Linked DNA regions of Homo sapiens: all the other regions are linked to region 1. Evidence: promoter capture Hi-C in 16 types of primary human blood cells and fetal thymus (Javierre and others, 2016). All regions are on one chromosome and are shown on one strand. The core of a region is centred on a gene start or on the middle of the fragment in contact, and the rest is flanking DNA. Distances in the headings are between cores, read along the strand shown.

What was found. Contacts are between HindIII fragments. The CHiCAGO score rates a contact against its expected background, and 5 or more counts as called.
Region 2: the fragment with the promoter of FAM89B here is called in contact with the fragment with the promoter of CNIH2 in region 1 in 1 of 17 cell types (non-activated CD4 T cells); the score reaches 5.0 in non-activated CD4 T cells.
Region 3: the fragment with the promoter of KCNK7 here is called in contact with the fragment with the promoter of CNIH2 in region 1 in 1 of 17 cell types (naive B cells); the score reaches 7.0 in naive B cells.

Annotation. Positions count from the first base shown.
Region 1 is chr11:66,276,925-66,279,453 of GRCh38, reverse strand. It overlaps CNIH2 (cornichon family AMPA receptor auxiliary protein 2), which reads right to left and starts at 1,279. Exons shown (of 6, transcript NM_182553.3): 1 at 917-1,279. The coding sequence starts at 997. It overlaps RAB1B (RAB1B, member RAS oncogene family), which reads right to left. Exons shown (of 6, transcript NM_030981.3): 6 at 1,962-2,529. LOC107984340 (a long non-coding RNA gene) reads left to right here and starts at 929. Exons shown (of 2, transcript XR_001748274.1): 1 at 929-959. RefSeq lists a silencer at 1,174-1,503. The HindIII fragment of the contact is 7,021 bases long and covers 1-2,529 here.
Region 2 is chr11:65,571,288-65,573,816 of GRCh38, reverse strand. It overlaps FAM89B (family with sequence similarity 89 member B), which reads right to left and starts at 1,279. Exons shown (of 2, transcript NM_001098785.2): 1 at 857-1,279; 2 at 1-454. The coding sequence starts at 1,147. The coding sequence ends at 176. ZNRD2 (zinc ribbon domain containing 2) reads right to left here. Exons shown (of 4, transcript NM_006396.3): 4 at 1,929-2,426. The coding sequence ends at 2,083. RefSeq lists a silencer at 959-1,408. The HindIII fragment of the contact is 12,518 bases long and covers 1-2,529 here.
Region 3 is chr11:65,594,536-65,597,064 of GRCh38, reverse strand. KCNK7 (potassium two pore domain channel subfamily K member 7) reads left to right here and starts at 1,265. Exons shown (of 3, transcript NM_033347.2): 1 at 1,265-1,611. The coding sequence starts at 1,293. The HindIII fragment of the contact is 15,508 bases long and covers 1-2,529 here.

The DNA.
Region 1 (2,529 bases), core at 30-2,529:
GGGGTGGGGACGGAGGGCAGTAAAGTGGGGCCAGGGGCCCCCAACAACCAGCTGGAGGCTGATTGATAGTTCTGTAGTGAGGGGACGGGAGCCAGGCAGAGGAGGCCCTGGAGGAGAGGAGCGGGAGGGGAGGAGGAGGGAGCCTGGGGGAAGCGATGGGTCGGATGCAGGATGAGGAATGGACATTTTGAAGAACCAGGTGTGAGGCTAGGCCAGGGCGAGGGACAGACCAAGGGGTATGTGAGAGACAAAGGGGAAGGGGGACAGGAAGAGGAGGGAAGCTGGAAAATGGAGAGGAAACCTGGGGGGCTGGGAAGCCCCCAACAGGAGGGGTAGGGAAACCCAAGGTGAGCCGGTGGTGGGGGCTAGGTCTCTGGGGGCTGATGAGAGCCAACTGCTGCTTGGTCAGGGAGGGGGCTGGGAAGGCAAAGGGTTAATGGACTCTGAGATCTGTGGGTCCTGTAAACAGATGCAGTTGCCATAGCAACCAGCTCCATCACTCTGGCTGGAAAAACCCACAAAGGCGGGGGGGGGGGGGCAGCAGACAGACAAACTGCCCGACGGACTAATGGAGGCGGCTGGATGGTGGTGGGGGGGGACATAGAAGATAAAGCAACAAAAATGCCAGAATTCCACCCCCCACCTCACGGGCTGCATGGGAGCAGAGGACGAGGGCAGAGGAGGGGGTCAGAGACCGACTGACATACACACAGACAGGCGGGGGCGGCGGAGGAAGGGGGGCCCCGGGAAGAAAGCCGACCACGGGGGGTGTTAATGGGGGCGAAGCCGACAAGCCGACGGCTGGGGGATAGCAAGTTTCCCCTGGGCTCTGAGACCACCCGCCCTGGGTCCCTCCAGCTCCGCGTGGCCCCTGCCCCCCACCCCGCCCCCAGCCCCAGCCCCAGCCCGGCCTTACGTGCCAGATGACAAAGAAGATGAGGGAGGCGCACAGCACCAGGGTGAGCATGTAGCAGAACGCGGCGAAGGTGAACGCCATGGCCCCCGCGCCGGGCGGCGGCCCGGGGGGCGCCAGCGCGGGGCCCGGGCGCAAGGGGACGCCCCCCGGCCCGCGCTTAGGGCCGGCCGGGCATGGCCCGTGGGGCTCGGGGGACGTGGGTGATGCGGCCGGGACCGGGACCGCGGGGCCGTGGGGGGCGCGGGGCGCGGGCCGGTGGGCTCGGGGGGCGCGTCCGCTGCCGGCTGCCCGGGCCCCGATCGCTCATCCTGCGATCCCTCGCCCGCGGCTCCCTCGCTCTCCAGCCCGCGAAGCCGGCGGGGCGGAGCCGGGGGCGGGGCCGCCGCGCGAGCGGCCTCGGGCGGGGCTGGGTCTCCGCGGGCCCCTCGTCTGCCCGCCCGGCTCGGGCGCCACCCCCAGCCCCGACAAGCCCGCGGCCGTTCACCCTCCGGACAGCGTAGACGCGGCCGCCCCCGGCACCCCGCACCCCTCGGCACTCCAGCCACCGGCACAGCCGCACTCGGCCCCCTCGGGCGGGCGCTCAGGGCAAAGGCTGAAGTGCGAGGCACTTGTCACTGTCGGAGACGGCAGAAGCACCTGGCTGGGACACACAATGACGCCAGGACAGGGGCTGAATGGGAGCAGTGGGGTTTTGGGGGGCGCTGAAGGAGGTTGGGCCAGGTGCAGTGGGGGCCCTCTCAGCGGCTGCGCGACCCCACACCTCTGCCGTGTGCCCCGCGGGAGTTGGCGGCGGCACGCCAGGTATGAGCTGATGGCCGCCTGCCTCTTTCCCTGACAGAACGGTGCTGGGCCCTTGGGGACAGACCACAGAAGCACAAGCAGCTTTCCTGGCCTCAGGAAACGGGGTCAAGGGCTTTTGCCAGCAGCCTTAGGACACAGAAACCAAGCCAGGACCCCCGTGCACCCCACCAAGCCCAGGGTTCCAGTTCCATCCCCCCACCCCAAGGCTGGGCTTAGACCACAGACCACACTTGGCCACCACAACTTCCTTGCAAAAACCCTCAGCTCACCCGAGGGCCAATGGAAATTTATTAATTTTTTTTGTCCTTTTCCATCTTTCCCCAAGTGGCTTTTCCTTGCAAAATGCCTGACATGACACCAGAGGGGAACCTGGGAGCGGGGGGCACCCCAAGGGGGCAGCCCAGGGACTTAAATACAAGCTGGAGGGCAGGGCACAGGTGGGACAGGCAAGAGACAGCACGAGGGACATGGCTTCTCAGGGAGACCAAAGACTTGCTTTCTTGCAGGAAGCAGCTGTGCCAGAGGGCAGGGGACTAGGATCCTGGGTGCAGAGTGGGTGAGCAGAGAGGCCCCCAATCCTGGATGGAACCCACATTCCCCAGAGAAGTAGCGGCAGGGGATGAGGGCCTTCCCTGGTGGGCTCCAGAGACGGAGTGGGGAGTGAGCCAGATGTGCTACCTTGGGGAAAGGGAGGAGGTGCTAGCAGAGTGAGGGTTAAGGCTGGTGCCCAGCCTCTGGCACGGTGGGCCTTCCGCCTCCGCCTGACATGGGGACAAAGGGGCACGGTGGGCAGGCAGCGCATGGGTCTGTCT
Region 2 (2,529 bases), core at 30-2,529, 710 kb after region 1:
CCAACCCAAGACAGGAGAAAGAGTTTGGCAGTTTCGCCTCTGAGGAATACATGCCTGGCCCTCCTGTGAGGTGAGGCGGTAGGGGGGAAGGCGCAGGCTCCGAAGTCTGAGGGCTTGCCGGAGGGGGAGTTTCTGAGCCTTTTGCATGGGTGCATGCCCCCTGCCCCCCAGCCCTTCAGAGGCTGATGTGGAAGGCATCCTGCAGCCACTGGTCACGGGCATTGTGCGTCTGGGGCACAGTAAGGGGTGGCGGGTCAGGAGGCAGGCTGGCATCGGGAGGCTCCTCGTCGTCAGACAGGCCCGCATCCGGTGGGTAGGAGCTGTCCGAATGGAGGGAGGATGACAGGTCCTGGCAGAAGCTCAGGTCTTGGCACAGGTGTTTGTAGTCCTGGATTGACTCGTACAGGCCCCACAGCTGGCACAACAAGGACATGTCCAACTGCCGCAGCCCCACCTGCAGACAACTGAGGGTGGGCTGGAGTTGGGGTCCAGGCCACCCCAGCCCAGCCCCGCCCCCTGGAATAGTGGGCCCCAGCCCATCTTCCCCGCACCTTCCTAAACGAAGTTTTTGTGGACATCAGGCACCACCTGCAAGCTATGCAACTTTAGTCATGACCCTCACCCAAAAAATGGGGTTATCCATTTAGCCGGATGAAATGAAGTAACGTCAGCAAAACATTTGAAAATATATGGTAACTACTGCCATAATTGGTAACTATCACTAATTATTGTTACCATAACCCTTGCAACCCAACTGGTGCCTGCAAGTCCTCTGAGACCCAGGCCGCCTGTCCCAGTCCCCTGCGTTCCTCCGCGTCAGCCCCCCGCCCAGCTGGCCCGGCGCCCACCCACTCACCATCTCCTTGCGCAGCGCGGCCAGCGCTGAGTCGAGGTTGACAGGACGACGCGGGCCGGCTGCGGGTCCCGCGTTGGCGGCGCCGGCGGCGTGGCGGGGCCCGTCCGGGGCGCGGGCGGCGCGGCTCAGCTCGTCGTGGATGCGGCTGCGCTGGCTGTAGACGCGCTCCAGCTCCCGCCACGAGCCCCCGCTCGCATTAAGGAGGCCGCTGAGGCCGCGCGGCAGCGGTGGGAGCCCGGCCAAAGCGCAGCCCGCCCCGCCCGGCGCCTCTGCCGAGGGCAGCCCGTTCATGGCCGGGGCCGGCGCGGACGGCGATGCCACCTCCTTCCCTCCAACGCTCCGCCCGGGCCGCCGCCCGCAGGCCCCGCACCCCGCGGCCCCGCCGGAGCCCAGCCGCCGCCCGCAGGCCTCGCTTTGTTCCTTCCCCAGCTCCTCAGACTCCGCCTCTGCCCCACCCCCTCTGGATGGGCCGGGCCTCTCTTAAAAAGGCAACGGTTGTGGGACCACGTCGCGCAAAGCTGAGAAAAGGCAACGGGACATCCACTCACTCAAGGGGAGATGGAAAAATGCGGCGGAGGGGGGAAAAGGCTGAAGGGGGCAGGCGTGGTTTCTTCACGGTTCTTTTTGCTACCCCGTCTCCCCGCCGCGCCCCGCCCCGCCCCCACACCCAAGGAAAATGATCTAACAGTGGAGTCAGGAGACTGGCAAGTCCACACTTGGTGCCTAACGTGCCACCTGACGCTGGGGTCACCACAAACTCCTGTCGGTGTCTGAGTACCTGGGGTGGGCATGAGATGGGATAGGCTGATAGGGTCAGGATGCTCAGGGGAAGGAGGGGAATCTATCAAGGGGATCGGAACACAAAACCTCACTTCCAGGTGGGGAATGGACACCAGATGGCGGAAGAGGCTGCAGAGGTGCTGCCAGAGACAAGGCTAGGGTCCACCCCTCTGGCTGCTACCTTTGAAAAGGCTATGGCTTCTTCCTTAGAAAAGGGGCATCACATAGTCCTCTACCTACTCCCTCATCCTGACTGGGGAAACTGAGAAGAAACAAGCTCAACTCATCTCAGGGCGTCAAGGAGAGCAGAGTGGAGAGGTGAAGAGGCCAAAAGCTGGAAAAAGGTGAGTGGAGCTGGGGCTGGCATGCACACTTGGAACCAGGAAAAAAACAAACCACACAGAGGAACAGCTGTTTTTCTAGAGGGTTTTTCTCAGGGGCTTCTCTTAGTGCTGTAGCTGCTGCAGGCTGCGCAGGGCCTCCGCACATGCGCGGATAAGGCCACACAGCTGGATGCTAGTCTCCAGGGAGGTGCTAGAGCCCAGTTCAGCAGAGGCCCAGGTCAGCTTCTGCAAGAGGGCTGTCTGTGTGCAGGCCATGACATCTGTATTTGGAGGCACAGCAGGAGCAGGTGGCCCCTGGGCTGCCTTGAGTCCTGCTGCAGCTCCCTCACAGTGCTCCGGACGAGGTACTGGGGGCTGGGGCGCAGGTCGAGAGCCCAGGGGGAGCTCTGAGGCTGAGGCCAGCTGGTGCTCCCGAGCTTGGGAGAGGGCAGCCTGGGCATTCAGAGCTAAAAAGAGGAGAAAGTGGGTGGAATGGTCAGGATGCCTGGCCCACCTCAGCCCTGAGCCATCTCCTTTTCTGCTCTGCTCTTTCTGTGCTTGAGGTGTTTT
Region 3 (2,529 bases), core at 16-2,515, 680 kb after region 1:
TTGAGTGAGCCGAGATTGCACCACTGCACTCCAGCCTGGGCGACAGAGCGAGACTCCATCTCAAAAAAAAGAGTAGTAAGTTCCACCCACCTCCCAGTATGGTGACTTGCCATGGCATCTGGCACCCCTGACAGTTCTCTTCACACTGCCATGGGGGCTCTGGCACTCCCACACCATACCCTAGGGCAGGGTCCCTCCCTCGGCCTCTGTCCATTCTCTTCACACTGCCATGGGGGCTCTGGCACTCCCACACCATACCCTAGGGCTGGGTCCCTTCCTTGGCCTCTGTCCTCAGCCCCTCTGACGTTAGAGGAGTTGGAACCCAGGCTCCCCCTTCCCCTCTCCCAGGTGCCCCATGGCAGCCCAGACTCTGTGTCTGCAGTTCAGGGGCAGGGAGTCAGGAGGGCAGGCACAAAGCGTTCTCAGGAAGAACTGGCAATCGGGCGCAAGGGTATCATCTGCCCGGGTGCTCTGGGCACCCTGGAGTCCTCTCCCCACCTCCCACCCCCACCTGATCCTTCCCAGCTGCCACCATTCCTCTCCCACCACACCACCCAGGCCAAAATCACTCCATCCATGACGCCTACAGTAGCCCAGCGTAGGTCTCCCTGGACCACATTTATCCTCAAGGGCCTGTGTCCTTATCCCCCCTTCACCCCCAACTCTCCCCTGCCACAGCCAGCCCTCTGTTCCTCTCACACCCCAAGCTCATTCCTACCTTCACTGGCCTCTTACTCCCCAGCTGAAATATCACCTCCTTAGCAGAGCTTTCCCAGTGAGATAACCCCCCCGCTCCCCGCAGAGCTCTCCCATCACCCAGGGTGTTTCCTTCATGGAACTCATGACAATGTGAGGTTGCCATGTTTCTTTGCTAAGAGGTTTCTTGTGTAAACACCAGGAAGGAAAGGACCTGTGCCTGTCCTCTTCCCTAAGCACTTGAATGAATGAATGAATGAATGAATGTGGTATGGGTGCCTGAGTGAGCAGGACCTTGAATAAGTGTGAGGTCCTCTCTAGGCTTCAGCTTCCTCCGCCTCCTCCCCTCACCGCAGCCGCCTTCCTCCACCCATCCCCACCATCCCAGCTGCTGTGAAATGGGCAAATGTCTTGCCTCCAGGACCTGGGAAGGGTGATGCAGCTCACCTCCCTCCTGTTCACACCCCAGCCACCCCAGCCATCCCAGCCGGGTCCCAGCCACCCACACAGCACCTCCTCCTGGCCCCGCCCTGCCCAGCCCCTCCCAGGTGCCTGAGGTGGAGCCGCCAGTTCCCACAGCACCCCAGCGGCCTGCCATGGGGGGTCTAAGGCCCTGGTCCCGATACGGGCTCCTGGTTGTGGCCCACTTGCTGGCCCTGGGGCTTGGGGCTGTGGTGTTCCAGGCCCTGGAGGGGCCTCCTGCATGCAGGCTTCAGGCTGAGCTCAGGGCAGAGCTGGCAGCCTTCCAGGCAGAGCATAGGGCCTGCCTGCCACCCGGAGCTCTGGAAGAGCTGCTGGGCACTGCCCTGGCCACCCAGGCCCATGGGGTCTCCACCCTGGGCAACAGCTCAGAGGGCAGGACCTGGGACCTTCCCTCAGCCCTGCTCTTCGCTGCCAGCATCCTCACCACCACAGGTAAGAGAGCCAGGCAGCCAAGTCGGGGGGTGCGGCTCCAAGAGGCCATGGCTCCCTGGGGGCTTTGGGGTTCATGCAGCCCTTCCTTCAGCCCCAAAGAGCCAGATGGAGCCCAGGCCCTGTGAGGCCTGACATCACAGCTGGGGCTCCCCACCAACACACCCCAACTGGTGCCTCCACTTCAACTGCCAGGAAGGGTGTGGCCTCCCCAGTCCCACCCCAGGCACCCTTTGAGACCCAGGAGAGCTGCCCAGATGCCACAGCCTGTGGCCAGATAGGGGATACAATACAGTGGGATGGATTCTTGGATGGAAGCAAATAGAATGAACCTGGGAAGGACAGATCAGGACCATGGCCTCGGGTGGGGGAGTGAGGGAAGATAGGGGAGGAAGTCGGCATGAGATGCTTGTGGATCAGGAGGGCACAGACAGGGATGAGGGAGTCCTGCAGAGAAATCGCGTGGGCACAGGCCCAGGGAAAAGCAGCAATGAGACCCACAGCCCTGGGTTTTCGTATTTTTTGCCCCACAAAGTGTCTCAGTATTTTTTGAATTGGAATTTGTATTTCCAACTTTTTTTTTTTTTGAAACGGTGTCTGACCCTGTCACCCAGGCTGGGGTGCGGTGGTGCGATCTTGGCTCACTGCAACCTCCACCTCCCGGGTTCTAGCAATTCTCCTGCCTCAGCCTCCTGAGTAGCTGGGACTACAGGCATGCACCACCATGCCCGGCTAATTTTTGTGTTTTTAGTAGAGACGGGGTTTTGCCATGTTGGCCAGGCTGTTCTCAAACTCCTGACCTCAAGTGATCCACCTGCCTCAGCCTCCCAAAGTGTTGGGATTACAGGTGTGAGCCACTGTGCCCAGCTCATATTTCCAACTTCTTTTGGAAAATCAGGAAACCCACTCACACTGAGCCAG